Regions from separate parts of the Homo sapiens genome. Here regions 1, 2 and 4 are each linked to region 3. The links are contacts of gene promoters, found by promoter capture Hi-C in blood cells and fetal thymus (Javierre and others, 2016). All regions are on one chromosome and are shown on one strand. The core of a region is centred on a gene start or on the middle of the fragment in contact, and the rest is flanking DNA. Distances in the headings are between cores, read along the strand shown.

Region 1 (2,700 bases), core at 174-2,673, 1.3 Mb before region 3:
TAAGGAGAATTTATAATACAAATTTGAGATCTTTCTCTGTGGTTCCCTCATCACTTGAATTTTGACCATCAAGTTCTATGCACGTTGGTAGCCCCAAACTCTGACCAGTATCTCCTTAGTCCAGCACAACTGCCTCTTTCCACATGAGGTCTATTCCACAATGGTGCAATACGGGACACACCTTCAGGAGGAAAGCACTTTCAAATGTGCAAACTCATATAATGTGCTTCCCTTCTCTCAAGGATTGTAGTTTGTCAAGCCTTGCCTGGGTTGACAGCTTATCAGTGCCTTCAAACAGTTGCTTTAAGTCGGGCTTGGTGGCTCACACCTGTAATCCCAGCATTTTGGGAGGCTGAGGCAGGTAGATCACGAGGTCAGGAGTTCAAGACCAGCCTGGCCAACGTGGTGAAACCCTGTCTCTACTCAAAATACACGCCTGCAATCCCAGCTACTCGGGAGGCTGAGCCAGGAGAATGGCTCGAACTCAGGAGGCAGAGGTTGTGGTGAGCCAAGATTGCGCCATTGCACAGCAGCTTGGGCGATAGAGCGAGACTCTGTCTCAAAAAAAAAAAAAAGCCAGAAACAAACAAACAAACAAAACAATTGCTTTATAGTTCTTATCCACGATGAATCATTTTTCTTCTAGATTAAAAAAGAAATAATAGATTAAAAGGAAGTAATAGAGACAAACGAGATTCAATGTTAGGTGAAAAGGATGAGGCATCAATCACTCTACTGTTCAATAGTGTTAACGAAAAAAAGAATCCATTGGCTGAAAGTGTTGCACAATAATATTAACTTTTAAATTTGATGGCCAAAATTTCATGACAAAAATGTTAATAATAATTATTTTTCTTTTTTTTTTTTTTGGAGACAGAGTCTTGCTCTGTCGCCCAGGCTGGAGTGCAATGCTGCAATCTTGGTTCACTGCAACCTCCGCCTCCCGGGTTCAAGTGATTCTCCTGCCTCAGCCTCCGAGTAGCTGGGATTACAGGTGCCCGCCACCACACCCAGCTAATTTTTGTATTTTTAGTAGAGATGGGGTTTCAGCAGGTTGGCCAGGCTGGTATCGAACTCCAGACCTCAGGTGATCCACCCGCCTCAGCCTCCCAAAGTGCTTGGATTAGAGGCATGAGCCACCTCGCCTGGCCAATAAGTATTTTTAAAACAAAATCAGACATATTGTTATATGCTGGAAGAGTATTCTTTCATTAAAGAAGCAATGCTGTTGGCTTTGATTATGGCTCACAAAAATATTGCTTTTAATATTCATCCATTCAGCGTTGGTCGAGGGTATATACTAGGTACACTTCTAATTCCTACCTTATTATAAAGGAGCTTAGAATGATTTGGATTTCGCCATACCTTTCCATTTTATATTGTCGTTGCTGTTTTGAAATTTAGTACCATTTGTTTTCATATTCCAACATGTAATCATTACGAAACAATGTTGTTTCAGGCATTCACTCTTTATGTAGCTTTTGTCACATGTTATGAATTTTCTTGCTCACTTATAACATTTTGAATCCCACTCCTTCATCAGTTCTAAATTCCTATTCATTAATGTAGTCGTCACTCTTGTCATATGCATTGTTCAAAATTGTATATTTGCCCTTTTACATTTTAATTCGTATATTTTCATTTATAGTTTTATTAGGCTTTTCTCCTTTTAACTTTCCATTCTGAAATTATTTTAGACTGACAGACACAGTACATGAATAATACAGATAATTCCTGAGCACCCTTCACCCCAATTCCCTCAATATTAGCACATTAAGGATATTCCTATATTTTCTTTTCCTTCTCTCTCTCATATATATACATAAATGTATATTTCTGAACTATTTGACAGTGAGTTTGAAGACACATACCTCCCCTTACCCTTAAATACGTATTTTGTAAATAGGTGTGAATTTTCTTAAAGACATTTTGTTCTATAACCATAGAACAATTAATACAATCAGGAATTCACATTCATAATATTATAAAATCTATAGACTTTATTGAGATTTCACCAACTATTTCAATAATGTCCTTTAAGATAAAAATTCCAGACCATATGTTGCTGTCATATCTTTAAGATCTTCTATAATGTGGACTATTTAGTCAGCCTTTCTTTGTGTTCTGTAACTTTGTTATTTTATTTATTTGTTTATTTATTTATTTATTTATTTATTTATTTTTCCTCCCTGCTTGCCTGTTACTAGGTTGATGCAAAAGTAATTGCAGTTTTTGAGGCGTACAAGTCAGTTATTTTGTTAAAATCTCCCTCAATATGGGTTTGTCTGATGTTTTCTGATTTAGATTACATATTTTTGCCAAGAATACCACAAAAGTGACGTTGTGCTCTCATGAGCACATCCTGTAAAAAAGGTATATAATGTAGATTCGTCCCAATACTGATTCAATCACTTGGGTAAGATGGTATCTACCCGGTTTCTCCACTGTGATGGAGATTACAGTGCAGAGTGGAAATTTTCTTGCTATTACAGAACCTCATGATTTCTACAGCTTATGGTTTTTGCGATCAGTATTTCGTTGGTTTGAAAGAACTCTGCTAAAGAAAAAGAGAACCCAACATTTGCCCAGAAGACTAGAGACTGTGTTTACCGGAAGTGTGCTTTTCTAAAAAAAAGTTTAAGCCTCCTCCCCGTCGGGGAATCGAACCCCGGTCTCCCGCGTGACAGGCGGGGATACTCA
Region 2 (2,750 bases), core at 159-2,658, 1.6 Mb before region 3:
ATTTTCTTGATATTTAATTAAGTTTTTGTTTTACTTGGGTTAGTAGCTTTATACAAGAAAATTTGGTTGTTTCTGCAGTTTACAATAACTTAACATAACTATAATTAATAGCTTATACTATTTTAGAAATCCCATACAATTTTGAAATATATATTAGTATTATTCACAAAAATATAGCCTAAAGAAGATTGAGCATCATTTTGGCAATCCCATGTACCTAAACGTGTCAAATAATCCTGTTTACCTGTCTTTTCTGGACACTTCAGGGGCCCGCTGAAGTATTCAAAAAGCCAGGTGCCAGGGAAGAGATTTTTGAAACCGATGTTTGATTTTGGGAATTCCAGATTGCTATAAGTTATTTATTTTGCCAAAACGATGACTCAGAAATTTTAAAGAAGCAAAGACCTTTTATAACCCTTTTGTATTTAGTCAACATGTTCACACAGAGAACCTCTTCCGTTAAAAAAAAAAAAAGTAAAACATTCACATGCTTTCAAAAGTTAAAGGTATAACAAAAGGTAAACTCAGAGAAGTGGCGTCCCATGTCCCTTACACTCCATTTCCCCCAAGTCTCTTACCACCATTTTAGGTAGCCAGATTCACTGTTTTCTGGTTTATCTTCACTATGTTTTCTTTTCAGAAAGAAAAACAGGTATGTGTATGTTTTCTTAATTCCCCTTCCTTCTTGAAAAAAGGTAGCCTACTATAATATTCATCTGCACTTTCTTTACTTAACACTATCTCCTAGAAATTATATCTTTTTTGTAGCCCCATAGCGCTTCCTCTTTGAGTCCATGTTACAGTTTATTCAACCAATCTCTTATGCCTGGACATTTAAAGTTAGTTAAAATGCTTCTAGAAGGTAAGCAGACAAAATAAAGATTATTGGTCTTCTGAGTTTGCCCATGGAATTCTGATTCACAAAATGCTTTAAATGTACCCCTATGTTTTCTACCATTTACATTTTTTAAAAAAATCTATCCAAGTAGAATCAACCATTTTACACTTAACTTCATTGTTGCTTCTCTTTCTCATAACATTCCATGTGTCTAGTTTCTGTAAGTATGGAAGGAGGAGGGTATAAATGATGTCTTTTGGCCATCGTAACAGATAGCTTTAGAGAAGAATTCACAGTACACGAAATGAATTTAATAAATCATGCATAGAGATGAACAAAAGAGCAAAAGAAGCAGGAGGCTCCCGTAGAAGCAAAAAGACAATAACGATTTACAATAACCAATGGTCTCAGGCAAAAGTCAGTAACAGTGTTTTGCCTTCGAGTGCAAGAAAATATAAAATTATATTCAACCTCAGTGTATTTTCTATTCACTGGAAGATAGGTAATTTGTTGGAAGTAAACATGAGAATTGTCACCTCCTCTTCCCAAGTAAGATATGCCTTTCCAAATAAGATATGAGTAAGAAAGGAGTTACGCAAACATTTGGAGAAAGGAGAAGGAACATGCTGAAGACATATCTAAAAGTGAGATACAGCCTCTGAAAGGACTTTTAAGAGAGAGAGAGCGAGAGAGAGAGAGAGATATAATATATATAATATATATTTAGAGGCCATCTTCTCCCCACAACTGTGGAAGGTAATTCCTCAAGAAGGGGGGGGGGAAAAAAAAAAAAAAAAGCACCCTTCTTTAGCAGAGGATGGTTTAGATCCATCGACCTCTGGGTTATGGGCCCAGCACGCTTCCGCTGCGCCACTCTGCTAACGGAAAACACGCTTCTACTCTTCTTATTTATCATGCAGGTGATCAGCCATTTTGTTGTTGTTGTTGTTGTTGTTGTTACACTGTTTTGCCTCTTTCTGTTTTTCTTTCACTGTTTCTTTCCCGGTTTTTCTTTTTTCCTCTTGGCCTCTTAAGATCAGCTCACTCTAGAACCAGTTGATTCCAACAATCCCCTTCAAGTTGCGAGTTGCCCTTTCCAAATCTACCAAACATGCTTCAAAACCTGACATTTCTTTCTTTAAGAGCTGCTTTGGGCTCAGGAGCAGAAACAGGAGAAAAGTCAAGCAAAGCCCTCAGAAGCCCTTAGAGAGAATCGAGGAAGGCATTAAGTCAGACTACTCTCCTTAGAGAGAAAGTATATTAGCCAGTTCGCTTGTTTCCTGTCCCCAATAAAATTTCTTTCCCAACACTAGAAGTATTTTTGCGTATTGACCTAGAAGTATTTTTGCATATTGACCTAACGCCTTTTGCAGCTTTCCGGGCGCCTGGTGTACCCACGCAGCCCCACCTTATCCCCACCCCTATCCCTGCCGTTGAATTCATAAAAAGGGGCTTCCTACCCTAACCCTTTGGTGTTATGTCTGCGGACAGCTTTCACTTTCAGCGAATGTGGGCTTTCCCAGCCAAGGGCCCAAACAGAGACCTTTGATACTCCTTCATCCTGTGCTATGTCAAGAAAGTCCCTTCTGAAACTTTTATTTTGCTCTTTTCACCAACTTGCTTTTCCCGTTTTCTCAGAGTTTCTCTGTCTTCAGGAAAGCCTTGTGTTTCCAGTTCCAGGTCAGGCATAGGATTGGTGGCCATTACTCTCCACCAATTTCATTTACGTTTTCTTTCTTTTTTTTTTTTTTTCCTTTTCTAAAAAGACAGGGTGAGACACTGAGGCAGATATACTGGGGTTAGGAAGATATCCCAGAATAAGAGCATGAGAAAGCAGGCTGGAATGGTTCATGTGGACAAGATGAGTCCTAAGCAAAACTGAACCAGGTCCCACCAGGACCTGACGTGGGGC
Region 3 (2,700 bases), core at 44-2,543:
AAGGGCGAAACTCCGTCTCAAAATAAATAAATAAATAAATAAATAAATAAATAAATAAATAAATAAGAAAAGAAAAAAGCAAACAAAAGATATCAACTGGAAAGTTGAAAAGGCTCATGATTTCTGCATTTTCCTTTCGCACTCAGGTTTGAGACACACCCATCTGCACCTTCGTTGCTTTGACTCCTGCAGTTTAGAACCTATGCAAGGCTGTCAAGTCTGCAAGAGCTGTGTGTTAGTGCCACGGGTCTAGGTGTTCCAGCTAATAACCTTAGCCTTAGACCAGTATCAGGCGCACAGAGAGTAACGTTGACCGCACCCAAGGCACCGACCGTCGCCGGCAAGTAGCTGGGTCTCAAAACACTAGTGGAGTAAGGCAGCCTGATGCAGATCAAAAGCGCTGGCCCCTCGGGCAAGGTCAAATAAACATCAAGGAAAGGCAAAACCAAGGCGTTGAAAGCCTATGCAGTTAAGACCTAAAATGCAGGCCACCACATGAAAGAGCGTTGAGCCAGAAAACAAGAGGATGGGTTAAGCAGGGTACAATTAAGTGGCCAGGAGTTTAGAAAACGAGAACAATGTACAAGAAAGCAGCAGAGGGCCTGAACAGCAAAACAAAGCCAGCTAAACCAATGGAGAACAGCGTAGGGAGGCCCAGCCCTAGGCGAAAACCTGAGGGAGCGCTTAAATTTGGAAATTTAAATGAAGCATCGAGGGAACTGAATGCCACTATTTCAAATGTCTATTTGGATCAGTGCAGTTTAGTGGTCTAATGCGTCTCAAAGGATTACAGCCCTTTTCACGGACAAAGTGGTTGGCTCTGAGAAGAGCCTTTGGATTTAAGGTTTGTACTCAAAACAATTCACGCCCTCTCCCCACGAATGCGGCGGGCAAGCTGGATGTCTTTAGGCATGATGGTCACGCGTTTGGCATGAATAGCGCACAGGTTGGTGTCCTCGAAAAGCCCCACCAAGTAGGCCTCGCAGGCCTCCTGCAGCGCCATCACCGCGGAACTCTGGAAGCGCAGGTCGGTCTTGAAGTCCTGAGCTATTTCTCGCACCAGGCGCTGAAACGGCAGCTTCCGGATTAGAAGCTCGGTAGACTTCTGGTAGCGACGGATCTCGCGCAGAGCCACGGTGCCAGGGCGGTAGCGATGGGGCTTCTTCACGCCGCCCGTGGCCGGAGCGCTCTTGCGAGCTGCCTTAGTGGCCAGCTGTTTGCGCGGTGCTTTACCGCCTGTGGATTTACGAGCCGTCTGCTTAGTACGCGCCATAGTTCATCTGCAAAGTAAATGAGTTAGGAAGATTGGTTTGCCCCTCTATATAGGAACAGAATCACTCTGATTGGATTGTGGACGATCCCTGTTAGTGATCGGTTGCTAAATTCCGGAAGTGGCCGTAGAGATTCACGATTGGTTTATTTTTTCAGTGCAAGATTCTGATTGGTAAATTTGGATAGAGAACTGGCTCTTTCAAACAAGTCGTTTTCCGTTACAGGTTTCTTTGATGTTTCACGTAGACCATGACCTGCAAAGACATTGATCATTTAACTTAATAGACTGATCTGTTATCCTGTTTAGCTATAAAAAATCGAATGTGTTTGCGTTAGAAAGTGCTTTAGAATTTTTTTTCCAAAATCTCCGCTGCTTTTTTCTGCATTTTCCTGAAGTTTTTCCCTTCCTTATTCACTCATTTAAAATCCGTTGCCTAAGTATCTCTCAATGATTCCTCGTTTCATTATAGAGTACAAGGCTAATTCACTCAAACAAGGTTTTCTAAGATACACTGTTAAGCATAAGGAACTTTGTGTTTCATTTGTGTTATAGTAAAATTCTAATATCCTGGAATCCCTACCTCTGTAATATCGGGTTTGACTCAAAGAACTTAACACTATTATTTCGTTTTGTTGAAATTAAAACGTCCAGACATAATGGCAAGAGCCGTCAAAAAAAGTATTTTCAATTTAAAATCTTGAAAAAGATGGCGGCGAAGAGAGTGTTAGAAGGTTGTTTCTCTGTAAGACAACAATGGCGCAGTTTCTCCGGATCCCTGCGGGAGAGAGCTGAGGTGCACCGAACAATTTAAGACACATCCAACAGAACTTTTATAGGAACTGGACTCACCCAAATAACAGGACTTCTTAACTTGGTTTTCGCTTCCACACTCAACAGCTCCCAATTACTTTGAAAAAGTAACAAATGTTTACTGGAAAAGATTCTTAAAGAATGACATTACAGCCTAACACTATTGTGAATTAACCTATCGGATTCCCTGTAAGGTGTTCTTTTCCTAGCCAATAAAAAGAGCAGTTTGGGAATTCCTAATTTACATACTTTTAATCTATTGGCTACTTTGGTTCAGGCAGAGTTTTGATTTACAAGTTCGCGTTTGTGTAAGCGTACTATAAATATTTCAGAGAGGGATAGTGCGCGTGCGTGCCCGTTGCAAGGTCTAGTTTCTTTTTGTTTTTCTTTCCCAGTAGGTTTTCTTTCTCATTGGAAAGCTATTTTGTAAAGTGTAGCAGGTTCGCAATGACGCTGGCATGTAGTCCAAGGCGATTGACATCATGAATATGCTGGAGCCCCCGTCCTCCAGGGAGGGGAAACGGCTAAACCAAATTTATCACTGCCCGCAAATGCCCGCGGATGTCTGCAAGCTGGAGTGGAGAGGAGACAAAGGATGCTTTGTGCATTCCTGCTCA
Region 4 (2,714 bases), core at 40-2,539, 1.5 Mb before region 3:
TTTGACTTTTTTTTTCTTTAATTTCACTATAGTGTCCTCCTCCACACATACAAGGATGAAGTTTTGTTTTTTAAGATGAAACAAATTTGTCATTAATGAAAGGATTGTCAAAATCTTCCCAAAGGTCCTCAGCTTCTGAATCACCTGGAAGCTTCTAAAAATTAAGACTTGTGGGCCATACCAGAGACCCTCTGCACTAGAAGGGGGTATGGCAAGGAATCTTAGGAATAGTCCACCTGGAGAATCACTAGCGTAAGTTCTGGGCCTCACATTCCCTCAGAAGAGTCCCATGAACCTGTGGTCAGCAGCTTAGGGCTGGTCTTCTTTACTGATCTGAGGGACAATGGGAAGCTTAGGACTCCCTGCATGGCATCTCTCCCGCCCAGGGGAGAACAGCTCAACAAATTTCCTCATTAACTACAAAGTTAAATGGAAGCATATGCTATGAAAATGCCACAAAAAGCTGTTGCTAGATGAAAATGTCTAAATTTGCTTTAAATTATCATGGGGGCTTGGCAGAGGGAGGAGAGACTAATTGTTGAAGTAGGATCATGGAAATAAGGAGGTCCATAATATTCTCTATAATCTTTTTTTGTCATAAACAGGGGTTTATAAAACTACCTAGTATAGCATGGTGGTCAAGAACACCAGTTCTGGAGACAAACACACCTGGTGGTGTCCTTTCCTAGCTAGCATAACCTCAGCACATTGTTCAAGCCTTAACTTGCTCAAATGTAAACCCGAAATGACAGGGATAGATCTTGACTCAGGAGGCTTGACAAGGCTAAAAGTAATACTAAAAATAAAAGCAGTAACTACTTCTGTAAGTTGAGCACTGTCTGAAACACTTCAGGGAGTTTTTCTTAATTGAGTTTATGATAATTCTATGAGGTACACACTGTATCCATATCCATTTTACCAGCACAGACAGAGTCATGAAGAAGCCAAATAGCTTGCCTGAAACCCTACATATGATGAGAAAGTGGCAGAGGAAGGAATTGTACTCAGATATTTTGGCTCCAAAGATCCCTGCCAGATCTGCCCTGCCAGTTCATAAGGACTAAGAAGATGCCTCCTCTCTATACTACCATCCAAATGCTTCGCAATCTGTACGTCTGTTGCTCCACTTTTTGCTTATGGCATATTGGCTGCTCATGTTCCTCTTTCTTCTCCTTGAGAGTTAGGATTGTGTAATCTTGTCCTGCATGCCTCTGGTACTCCTAGTGACAACATAGGGTCACAATTGTCTGGCACATTGTTTGTAGCTCAATAATTTATTTTTCTTTTTAAAAAAATTTGAAATGGGGATCTCGCAATGTTGCCCAGGCTGTCTCGAACTCATGGCTCAAGTGATCATCCCGCCTAAGCCTCCCAAAGTGCTAGAATTACAGGCATGAGCCACTGTGCCCAGCCAATAATTTATTTTAATTAATATGAAATAAATGTGTTTACAACAATTTTTTTTAAATTAGAGATGGAGTCTCCCTATATTGCCCAGGCTGGAGGGCAGTGGCTTTTCACAGACACAATCATTGCACATGCAACCTCAAACTCCTGGGCTCAAGTGATCTTCCTGATTTACTTCGTCTCCAGAGTAACTAGAACTACAGGTACACCACTATGTCCAGTTTAACAATATTTTTTATCTTTTTTCTTTCTTTTTTTCTTTAACAATATTTTTAATGATCATTGTTGCTGCTAATCTGGTCTTGATTTGTTAATTGGGAAATACAGTCTAATTTGTTAATTGGGAATTACAGTCTTTCTTTCAGTTGTTACCCACAGCATTCCAATTATTCATGATCCAGCTACTACCAGCTCACATGATCTCAAGGTGAGAAGGGGCTCTCTGTTCCTGGCACCCATGGAAGAAAGAATACTAAGTAGAGGAAAAAGTAAGCACAGACTTTCTCCAGACTGGTCTGGCAGCCCAACCACCACCTCTAAGCACAGAGAGTGTGTGGTGTTTATATGCAAAGTGAAGTTATAAGGAGGAATCTGGAAGAAGGCAGCTTGCTTCTAGGTGTGCAGTGAAAGTAGATAGAGGAAGACAGTGAAAAGGGAGAGAAGAACAAAGAAAAGAAAAAAATACACGAGCGTTTTATCCTCCTTTTCTAAATCAAATAGCATTGAACTGTCACATTCCAGAGAAATAATTATTTGTGACATAGAATCCAATCTTGTAACCTTGTACCTGTTCCCCAGTATATCTCATCCTGAAGCTTACCTGCTCTGTAACAAATGCTAATAGTCCCAAGAGCTCAGTCTTACAGGTCCGGGTTCCTAAAAGGGTCATTTTCTGGCACTAGAAAGATGAAGATCAGAACAAGTTGCATGGATAAGATAAGGACACTATGGTAGAATTTTTTTAAAAAAATCAAATCATCTGCTCTCTACTTCTCTATCTACTTGAGGTTTTCTTGCCTGGCATTTGCAAAGAAATTGGGGCTCATGGGTGAATACTTGGATTGCTAAAATGATAAAGTTTGGCTGTTGGTTTTAGTACACTAAAAGTACAAGGGCAAGAAACGTACCACCACTGTGAGAGTTTCTGGGAAGAAAGGGCAGCTTTGAGATTATAGAACCTGGGGCATCTGGAAAAACTGTATTTTTTTTTTCCTGTAGAAGAGACATGGGACCAAAGGCAAGTTTTACTGGTATTGTGGTTATCACATTTGCCCAATACAGTAAAGACCCTTGGTTTGAAACTCAGT

Evidence for each region. The method cuts DNA at HindIII sites, captures the fragments that hold promoters and counts their contacts. A CHiCAGO score of 5 or more calls a contact.
Region 1: a fragment that was not itself captured here is called in contact with the fragment with the promoter of H3C6 in region 3 in 1 of 17 cell types (naive CD8 T cells); the score reaches 6.0 in naive CD8 T cells.
Region 2: a fragment that was not itself captured here is called in contact with the fragment with the promoter of H3C6 in region 3 in 1 of 17 cell types (M2 macrophages); the score reaches 6.9 in M2 macrophages.
Region 4: a contact is called between a fragment that was not itself captured here and the fragment with the promoter of H3C6 in region 3, in 1 of 17 cell types (monocytes). The highest score is 5.1, in monocytes.

What each region holds. Positions count from the first base shown.
Region 1 is chr6:27,479,692-27,482,391 of GRCh38, reverse strand. TRD-GTC2-6 (tRNA-Asp (anticodon GTC) 2-6) reads right to left here; the gene lies at 2,647-2,700. Among named protein-coding and RNA genes, the nearest start is that of TRD-GTC2-6, 1.4 kb to the right of the region's middle. RefSeq lists a silencer at 2,606-2,665. The HindIII fragment of the contact is 3,440 bases long and covers 1-2,700 here.
Region 2 is chr6:27,776,853-27,779,602 of GRCh38, reverse strand. No RefSeq gene overlaps it. Among named protein-coding and RNA genes, the nearest start is that of TRQ-CTG6-1, 13 kb to the left of the region's middle. RefSeq lists a silencer at 1,661-1,720. The HindIII fragment of the contact is 2,981 bases long and covers 1-2,750 here.
Region 3 is chr6:26,223,728-26,226,427 of GRCh38, reverse strand. It overlaps H3C6 (H3 clustered histone 6), which reads right to left and starts at 1,293. Exons shown (of 1, transcript NM_003532.3): 1 at 812-1,293. The coding sequence starts at 1,273. The coding sequence ends at 863. RefSeq lists enhancers at 51-666, 667-1,283. The HindIII fragment of the contact is 11,157 bases long and covers 1-2,700 here.
Region 4 is chr6:27,754,410-27,757,123 of GRCh38, reverse strand. No RefSeq gene overlaps it. Among named protein-coding and RNA genes, the nearest start is that of TRV-AAC1-5, 2.3 kb to the right of the region's middle. The HindIII fragment of the contact is 1,871 bases long and covers 354-2,224 here.